Linked DNA regions of Homo sapiens: all the other regions are linked to region 3. The links are contacts of gene promoters, found by promoter capture Hi-C in human tissues and cell types (Jung and others, 2019). All regions are on one chromosome and are shown on one strand. Each heading gives the region's core, a stretch centred on a gene start or on the middle of the fragment in contact. The rest is flanking DNA. Distances are from core to core; before and after follow the strand shown.

Evidence for each region. Contacts are between HindIII fragments. The study calls those that stand out against the background at their distance.
Region 1: a contact is called between a fragment that was not itself captured here and the fragment with the promoter of NBAS in region 3, in 2 of the 25 tissues and cell types used here (mesendoderm cells and thymus).
Region 2: a contact is called between a fragment that was not itself captured here and the fragment with the promoter of NBAS in region 3, in 2 of the 25 tissues and cell types used here (H1 embryonic stem cells and lymphoblastoid cells).

What each region holds. Positions count from the first base shown.
Region 1 is chr2:15,080,451-15,083,677 of GRCh38, forward strand. It overlaps a transcript of NBAS not described here. Among named protein-coding and RNA genes, the nearest start is that of LRATD1, 450 kb to the left of the region's middle. The HindIII fragment of the contact is 3,780 bases long and covers 1-3,227 here.
Region 2 is chr2:15,123,998-15,127,397 of GRCh38, forward strand. It overlaps a transcript of NBAS not described here. Among named protein-coding and RNA genes, the nearest start is that of NBAS, 440 kb to the right of the region's middle. The HindIII fragment of the contact is 4,483 bases long and covers 1-3,400 here.
Region 3 is chr2:15,559,952-15,563,279 of GRCh38, forward strand. It overlaps NBAS (NBAS subunit of NRZ tethering complex), which reads right to left and starts at 1,383. Exons shown (of 52, transcript NM_015909.4): 1 at 1,237-1,383. The coding sequence starts at 1,353. It overlaps LOC105373440 (a long non-coding RNA gene), which reads left to right and starts at 2,197. Exons shown (of 4, transcript XR_001739297.2): 1 at 2,197-2,232. RefSeq lists an enhancer at 1,173-1,582. The HindIII fragment of the contact is 7,047 bases long and covers 1-3,328 here.

The DNA of each region.
Region 1 (3,227 bases), core at 152-2,651, 480 kb before region 3:
CTGGGCAAGAAAGAGGGCTGAAAGATGATTATTCTGGTTATCTATTACTGAATAACAAATCACTCCAAAACTCAGTGACTTTTTAAAAAACAACCATTTGACTATATCTCACAATTTATGGATCAAGAACTTGAGCAAGGCTCAGCTGGGTAAGTTTTCTGCTTCATAAGCCATCAACTGAAATCACTCAGGGAAATTCAGCTGGTGGATGGGTTAGTTCAGAAGACCCGACAGCTTCACTCCCATGTCTGGCACCCTGGTGGGGGTGGCTGGAAGCTTGGGCTCAGCTGAACTGTTGGACTGAGGAGTCCACCTGTGACCTTTCAGCATGACAGTTTCAGGATAGTCACACTTCCACCTGGGGGGATGGAGCTCTCAGAAAGAAAATTCAAATATCCGGGAAGTACAAGCTTTCAATTTCTTAGGAGCCATAACAGCATCCCTTCCAAACATTCTTCTGTTGGTCACAAAGCCCACCCTTATCCAAATGGTTGAGAAACAAACCCAGCCCTTGATGGACAGCTGCCAAGGAATTTACAGCCGCTTTTCAACCTCTAGATAAAAACGGGCCACCATGCAGAGGCAGCTGACTCTTTTTCCTGAATTATTTCTGTCTCTTGGTGGTCTTCTCACACATATGCCCAAGATCCCTCAATCAACCAGTTACCTCTGGCTCAAGCAAAGCAAAAACCTTTTTCCTTGTGACCCAAACAATCCCTGGTCTCACCAGACTGAAGGTTGCAATGGGGTCCTATTAACTTTAATTTAGGATTTTGACTTGGTGCTATCCCTACCCATATCATTGTTAACTCCTCACTCTTCACTATAAGTCTCCCTAAGCTACTTCTGGGGGTTTCAGGAGGCAACTCCAAGGAGGTATGCCCAAGACGGTGTGCTCAGGAGAAACTAAACTCAGGTCGTTTATGGATCTCCTCACTCTTCATGAGATCCTCCACCTAGATATAAATATAGAGATGTCTCATATACCATACTTATACATTTACTTACTATGATTTTATAAGAACAGTCCAGTGTATCCAGCCAGAGCCTCCAACTCAACAGTCAACAGTCCACTGGCTATCCCAATGCCCACGACCTCTTCATCCAAAGGCATTGCGCAAGAATACCATTCTGGAAAGAGCTGCTCACAAGGCAGCCACATCCTTCTCCAGACTTTTTTCACTAGAAAGAGATGCCCCAGCGTCCCAGGAACCTCTCCCTCTTCCCTATCGTGTGTAATTATGGTCAGGGGTCTCTCCCTCTTAAACCCAGAGCCTGTAAGATGACTGCCCTTAGTTCGCTGGTCAACCCAGGTGTGACTCAGATTAGATGGATCACACAGCCCCAGTTGTTTGACACTTTGGCTGCTGCCTGGAAGGATGGCCTTTTGGTCCACAAAGAGAGGGTGCATATTTGGCAGACATTATAACATTGGCTGGAGTCAGGCACATGTGGGTTAGAATCACAACTTTTCCACTCACTGACTATGTCACCCTCAGAAAGGTGTTTAATCTTTTGGCCTCAGTTTCCACATCTGTGAAATGAGAATAATGATATCTATCTACCAGGGAAATTGTAATAATTAAATAAAGCAAGACAACTTAAAACAGACTCTGCTCCCCAACAAAAATGTGTGTAAAAATGGTAGCTATTAATAAGATAAGGATGGTGGTATTGGTGGTGGTGGTATTATTGGACCAATTTACCTGGTTTTGTGCATGAGTACCCTGTCATGCCCAGGACCTTGTAACACCCATGACTCCACGTTACACAGCTCCTTACTTATGCCCCAGTTAGTTTACTCTCACAATGCCCATGTCATTCATCCATGAATTCATGTATTCAACAGGTGTTTATGGAGTCACTATAATGAGCTGAGCATTGTGCCAGGAGCCAGGGATGCAGCAGTGAAGAGGAAAGATGTGGTCTCTACCCTAACGACTCCTCTAACATCACTTGCTCATTTCATGTTCTGAGTCACGTGACAGCAGACCATCTAGACTCACAAATATCAGAGCTGGAAGGTCACTTTCACTCTCTCTGGGCCTTTAATTCGGCTCCATGCTGCACCCCAGCTCCTGACCCAGTTTGGCTCCCAGCACTCCTACTTGGTTATGCTCTTACATTCTCTCTCTTGCTCCCTCCTTTACCAGATTCCCTGAGCAAACAGCCCTACAGAATCATTCCCAGAGCCCCCAAGGAGGCAGGGTTTGCATCAGCCTGCCCAGCCAGCACCCTGGACCCAACAGCTCACTTCCCCAAACTTAGAGAGCTACAAAGATCATAAGAACTATCTTTTCCTAGGTACTGCCAAAGCACATGGCATGCATTCTCCCATTTACTCCTCCTGGTATCTGTGTTGGGAGCCATGGTCTCCAGTTTACCGAAGAGGGAACTGAGACTTTGAGGAGTCACAAGACATGCCCACAGTCAGCTGACATGTAGTAGAGCCAGGGCTCAAACCCAGCTTTGTGTAAAAGTTGAAGATGGGACACTGGATATAACTGAAGCTACACAGAAAGTTAATGGGCAATTCCCCCCCACCATGTTTTGGGGGGTTATTCATCCTTTGGAATATTTCCATTTGCATGAGTCTCCCTGTAGTGGGCCTGGCAGTTAATTAGGAGGAAAGCAGCTATGTGCAGGATGGAGCAAAAGTGTGGGACACCATGGAGCTCATCTTAAGTGGAGGGACAGCAACTTGCCCAGTACCCCTCTCCCACCCCTGGGTACCTGGCTGGACTGTGCTTTCCTTCAATACCCCATTATCCTGGAGCTGAGCTGAGTGGGTTTCCACTTTCGCAACAGTGCTCCTGAACTAAATCATCTGCCCACCAGGCAAAGCCTGCCTTCTTCCCTCTCCATCTCCACAGTGTGTAGCCATGTGGGTGCCCAAAGCTGTGACTGAGTACACAGCAGCAGCCTTTTAATGCTTTTAAAATAAAACTTGGATTTTCTTTCTTTTTCTCCCCAGGTTTGTTCAGAAGGAACAAAATGTCCTAGTCTATTCCACATGGAATAGGTACCTCCTTCAGCACCATTTGCAAAACCATTCTAAAACTGAAAATTGTTGTGGGATGAAATTATCTGCCCTCTTCTGCATTTTTATTCCATCTCAGAATAATGTTGTCATCCAGAAAGAACAGATGTTTCTTACAGGTAAAGCCTGCTTGTACCAACATAATATACAGAATCATCAAATCCTTTTCAATTATCACAACAAAATC
Region 2 (3,400 bases), core at 285-2,784, 440 kb before region 3:
CTTCTTCGAGATCAGTTAAGTGATTGTGAGCAAAATTCTGGTAGAGATATGGACGGTGAATTCCAGGCTGACAAGGTCTCAGATAGAAATGTGGAAGCTATTGGGAACTGGAGGGAAGCTCACCCTAGTTATGCCCTAGCAAAGAGCTTGGCTGCATTGTCTCCATGTCCTACGGCTTTGTGGAAGTCTGAACTTGAGAGTGATGACTTATGGTACCCAGTGGAAGAAATTTCTAGACAGCAATCTGCCCCTACAGGCTTACCACCACATGGATGCTGGCAAGGCTTATGGCTTGTGTCCTAAGTGTTCAAGAAGTGGAATAGTTGCTTCTAACAGCCTACAATCAGAGGAGGGAGCAAAAGAATAACTTAGAGTTGGAACTTATGTTTAAAAGGGAAAGAGAGCATACAAGTTTGGAAAATTTACAGCCTGGCCCTATGGTAAAGAAAGAATCCAAGCAGGCTGTAGAGCGACCACTTGCTAGAGAGATTAGCATGACTCAAAGGGAGCCAAGTCCTAACATCCAAGACAATGGGAAGAAAGATCTCAAAGATATTTCAGAGATTTCTAACACAGCTCCTCCCATCACAAGTCCAGAGGCCTAGGAGGAAAGAATGGTTTCAGGGGGCAGGCCCAGGGCCCGTTCTCCTGCTCAATCTCAGGACACTTGCTGCATCCTGGCTACTCCAGCTCCAGCTGCAGCTCAAAGGGCCCCAGGTACAGCTTGGACTGCGACTCTGGAGGGTTCCAGTCATAAGTCTTAGCATCTTCCATGTAGTGGTTAAGCTTATGGGTGCACAGAATGCAAAGCATGAGGGAGGCTTAGCGGCTTCCACCTAGATTTCAAAGGACGTATCAGAAAGCCTTAGTGCCAAGGTAGAAGCCTGATGCAGGGGTGGAGCCCCCACAGGGATACTCTACTATGGCAGTGCTGAGGGGAAATGTGGGGTTGGAGCCCACACACAGAGTCCCCACCGGAGCACTGCCTAGTGGGGCTATGGGAAGGGGGCTGCCATCCTCCAGACCCAAGAATGATAGATCTCCCAGCAGCTTTCAACCTCAGCATGGAAAAGCTGCAGGCACTCAACTCCAACCTGTTAGAGCAGCTACATGGGCTATATACTGCAAAGCCACAGGATGGAGCCACCCAAGGCCTTGGGAGCCCACCTGTATTAGTCTGTTCTCACACTGCTATAAAGAAATACCTAATTCTGGGTAATTTATAAAGAAAAGAAGTTTAATTGGCTCACAGTTCTGCAGGCTATACCAGAAGCACAGTTCTGGCATCAGCTTCTAGGGGGGCCTCAAGAAGCTTACAATCATGGCAGAAGATGAAGCAGGAGCAGGCACATCACTAGAAAAAGCAAGGGCAAGGAAGAGAGGGGAGAGGTGTCATACACTTTTAAATGACTAGATCTCACAAGAACTTACTCACTATCACGAGGACAGTGCCAAGAGGATGGTACTAAAGTATTCATGAGGGATCCACTCCCATGATCTAGTCATCTTCCACCAGGCTTATCTAAGACTGGGGATTACAACTGAACATGAGATTTGGCCAGGGATAGAGAACCAAACCATATCACTAATCCTTGCTCCGGTGTTCCCTGGATGTGAGACATGGAGTCAAAGGAGATTATTTTGGAGCTTTAAGATTTAATGACTACCCTGTTACGTTTCAGACTTGGGTTGGGCCTGTTAACTTTTTCTTTGGGCCAGTTTCTCCCTTTTGGAATGGGAATGTTTACCCAATGCCTGTACCACCATTGTATCTTGGAAGTAAGTAATTTGGTTTTGATTTCACAGGCTCATAGGTGAAAGGAACTTATCTCCAGATGAGACTTTAGTCTTTGGACTCGGAACTTGGAGCTCTTGATTAAGTTGATGCTGGAACAAGATAATACTCTGGGAGACTATTGAGAAGGGATGATTGTATTTTGCCATGTGAGAAGGACATGAGATTTGGGGGACTGGGGCAGAATAATATGGTTTGGATATTTGTCTTCTTCAAATCTCACGTTGAAGTGTGATCTCCGGTGTTGGAGGTAGAGCCTGGTGGGAGGTGTTTTGGATTCTCATGGCAGATCCCTCATGAATGACTTAGCACCATTCCCTTGGTGACGAGTGAGTTCTCACTCCGAGTTTATGTGAGATCTTGTTGTATAAAAGAGCGTGGCACCTCCCCTCTCTCTATTTCTCACTCCTGCTCTCCCCATGTGACATGCTGGCTCCCTGTGGCCTTCCTCCATGATTATAAGCTTCCTGAGGCCCTCACCCAAAGCAGTTGCCAGCACCATGCTTGTTGTACAGCTTGCAGAGCTGTGAGCCAATGAAAGTTATTTTCTTTAGAAATTACCCAACCTCGGGTATTCCTTTACAGCAATGTGAAAACACACTGATACAGGAGCCCTGGTAGAGGAATGGGGAAGACACAGGGAAGGGAAAGTGGCCACTAAGGAATGTGTTATCATGCCAGCTACCTCTCAGGGGGGCATGAGGCTTAATACCACTGGGAAAACTCTGAGATCCCCAGTAAGAAACACAGATCAGAGGTACCTCACCCGAGGGGCAAGGGAGCTGGGGTACTGATACTCCACACTCCCTCAGCCCATGGCTGAAAGATGACAAAGGAGAGTGGTGGTAATTATTTCTCTGTCAGCAGCAAGAGAAAAGCCATCAGCCTAGCAATGCAGGTGGCAGCATTTGGAAGGCAGTTGGTAGGTACTAAGGAGGGACAGGTGGCCATGGCAGGGCACCAGCAACACTGCTATGAAACACTAAGATTTAAAGCTCTTACTAGATATCATACACTCTGCTAAGCACGCTACAAACTTGATTTCATTTCATCTTTACAATATCACCATAGGACTGATATTTTTAGCTCCACTTCACAAAGGAGGAAATAGAGGTACCTTCTTCACCTGCCCAAGGTCAAACAACCAGTAACACACAAAACTGAGAATTGACTGAGGTTTGTCTAGCTCAGCATACAGCTCCTTGATTTTCCCACTACATCTTGGTCCCTCTAAAGCCTCGGAATGCCCTGGGGGCAGGGCCAGCCTCACAGATATGTGGCCCAGGAAGTCACAGACGGCCCCATGCTCAGAGGATCCTGCACTTGGTTTAATGCTATGCAATTTTTGAAAGAGGGGCCCGTTGTTTTCATTTTGCACTGGACTGCAAATTATGTAGCAGGTCCTGCCTCATGGCCTTGCTCACCCAAGTTCTAATCTCCCTAGGAAGCACATCTCAAACTCTTAGCTGCTTAAAATCTCACTGACTTAGATTTAATTGAAAAATCCTTTCCATCTGTATAATAATTTTCCACCCCAAAGTTACACCAAGAATTAACAGGTGATAATGATTTAACAGCACACTCCAAGCAACAAAGACCAGCCAG
Region 3 (3,328 bases), core at 133-2,632:
AAACAGTAATATATGCAGATCTCTACCCGTCTACAAAATAAATTATTCATGATAAGCACAAACTGCAGTGGGAAGGAGGCTACAGAGGAAAAAAATACAAACTTTGGGCTGAAAAATGAGTCGTTTCTCCAGCAAAGAAACACTCAGAAAAAATGTAAGATAACTCACATGGGCTGGACTACATAATCTTTAATAAAGGTTCTTTTCGATCTGGCTGCTTCCTCTGGGTCTAAAACAGTAACTGGCACGTGTTAAGCACTCAATAAATATCTGTTAAATAAACATGGATCCAAAAAATAATAATAATAAAAAATAAAATAAAATAAACATGGATCCATGGTTCCTACTCTTCATCACAGACCCGGGAGGCCTTCACTACCAAACAACTGATAATCCCAAGATCCAGTCCATAAATTATCAACCTCTATAACCCTTCTGTAGCGGAGATCCCAATCCCAGTCAGCAGCTCTTTACTCTGCACTTCCGTGGCATTTTGCTCACATCGCTAACTATAGCGCATAAAACGCTAGGTTATGAAAAACGTTTACGGGACTGTCTCCCCTCTAGACGAGAAGCTCCACGAAAACATATTCATCTCTGTATCCTTAGCACCTAGCACAGCACCTGTGACACCGAGACAGACGAACGGACACGCACACCCTTATTAAATGCTCTTTTATTGAAACACACAAGACCTGGCGCGATCCAGCCCCCAGTATGGGTAAAGGCTCAGATTCTGCGCTCTGCACCAGCCTGGCAGATGCTGCAGACTGTAAGGTCCTGGAAAATTCTCCCATCGCAGTTGAGCGTCGGCCCAGACTAGCCCTAGCCAGACCGCGAGAAGGGACCACTGAGGGTCCAGATAGGAGAAAGGACCCTCGAGTCCAGCGCTGTGCCTTCCCCTCCTAATACAGAGAGCGACACTAACAATCCCCTCTCCTCCCAATACAGAGAGCGAAACTGAGAACCAAAGTGGGATCGTACGCTCCCCAGAGCACGAAGTTCCAGCCCCCAACAACCGAATTCTGAGCCCAGGAAGAATCTCAGGGACCACCACCCCACCCCGCCCTAGACCCCCGCTAGCCCAAGGTGCCGTTGCCAAGGCGACCGCACAAGCCAACCGGCCCTAGTCCCCCACCCACCCGTCTCCACTCCCCTACGTGGCTCCTGCTACGTGGCTCTACCCACGAAGCGCCCGCGCCAAGCTGGCTGCTGCTGTAGATGGGCCTGGTTCACCTGTACTTCAGTCTCCGGTGGCCACTCGGTGTTGACCAACAAGTCATAGAGAATCGTCTCCTCCTCACCCTCTGCAGTGCCTGGACTCAAAGCCGGCCCTGACTCGGGGGCCGCCATGTTCGCCGAGGACTCAGGCAGCGGAGGAGTGTCTCTACGGAATCCCTCACAGGACAAGCTTCTCTATCCGCGGCCGCTTTTGTTTCACGGCAAGGAAATGCTAGGTTAACCCTTTTATGAGTAGGAAGGACAGGGACTATTGCTTGTCTTGGGAACGACTTGTGTCCCGGTCCTGATACACTCCTTGTTCATTAATCTACATGAGATCGGCCAAGTCATTGAGCCTCTCTTATAACTCAGTTTCCATAAAACAGAAATGGTAAAGGTACCCCACTGAAATGCTAATGTTCATTTGTATATTCTTTGCCTAACACGTAGAGAGAGTTCAAACAGTGGTTTTAAAATAAACAACTAAAGTTATCCAATGAAAGGTAGCAGAGGAAGGATGCTACAGGAGCTCAGAAAAGGCAACGAAGGCCAGAGTCTGCAGGGATTTCCTGGAGGACGTGGAGCTTGTCCCTGCGTCTTTAACAATAGGCAGAATTTTAATCTACTGGAGAAGCATTTCAAGTAGCGGGAAATGGAATGAGCAGAGACAGAGGCAGAAATACAGAGTTGAAAGAACTCTTTCAACGTGTCGCCAGTGAGTGACGACTTTCTCAGTGTGGGAGTAAAAGAATTTACCAAGACAGTGGTAGATAAAGAAAGACAGATTAAAGAAAGTATGAAAGTTCGTTGCCAGGGAGCAGCGGGCCGACTCAGCAGAGGAGGAGCTCATTGCTAGGAAACAAAGGCTTGTTGAGAATTTTATAGACTGGAACTTGGAGTGATTGATAACACCAGGTAGCAGGGAGTTAACTTGCTTTTTTTTTTTCTTTCTTTCTTTTTTTTTTTTTTTTTTTGTCAGCTGAAGTGTTTCAGAAATTGAGGCATTTGAAGGTAAGCAGGAAGTTTGTGAGTTAAGTACGTTATCTGGGTAGAAGGGCCATATGTCCTGGGCCATAAAGAAAAGTAGACCTATGGCTTATTTGTTTCTTCCTTTTGTTTATATGTTTTGGACCATGAAGAAAGACAGACGTATAGCTAATTTGCCTTATCTCTTTGTTTTTCCCTGCTCCCACTAGCCTGCCTTTTTTTTTTTCCTAATTAGTACTCAACAAGACGGGTGAATAGAACCCAAGTTGAGAAAGGGTGTAGGGGCAATAAAGTTGAAATAATAGGTTGAGAACCCGCATGGAGGGAGCGAAAAGGTCAACCCCATTTGTTCATTCATTCATTCATTCAACAAATACCTCTTTGTGGACAGTTATAAGCAGAGCCTACTGTAACATGAATGAATATATACTGTACAAAGTATTACACTGTTTCACATCAAAAGAAACACAAATACTGAATATCCCTTGAGATAATTATATTCATGATATCCATCAAGATGCATTAGGCGGTGATGCAATTAAAAGCCTCTGCTGGGAAGCCTCTAACCAGCTCCCATTTCTCTCAAAGTTTAATGACCTCAAAGCCCTACGTCATCTGCCTGCTCCCCTAAATCTCACACCTCATTTCCTGCTCCCCCTACTACCTTCAGCCACACTGGCTCTATTTCTGAACACACCAGACACACATCAACTTCAGGAGTTCTGCAAAGCCTGTCCCCTCCACTTGGAAGGCTTTCTACCAGATGTTTACCTGGTTCCTCCCTTATCTCCTTCAAGTTTTTGCTCAAATGTCGTCTCTCTCTGAAGCCTACCTTGACTGCTCATTTTTAAATTTGCAATGACCATTCTCCAACTCCAGCTTTCCAGAGCTGCTCTATTATTTTTTCCATTACACTTGTCATCACTTAAATGGCTATACAGTATATTTGCTTATTATCTGTCTCCATTCACTAAAAGGTAAGCCATGCCAGGTGCTCTATCTATATGCATGCAAATGCTATATCCATCCCTGCTATATCCCCAGAATTTATAACAGTGCCTGGCATAGAGCAGAGGACAAAATATATATTATTTGTTGAATAAATGACAGACTTCCCAGA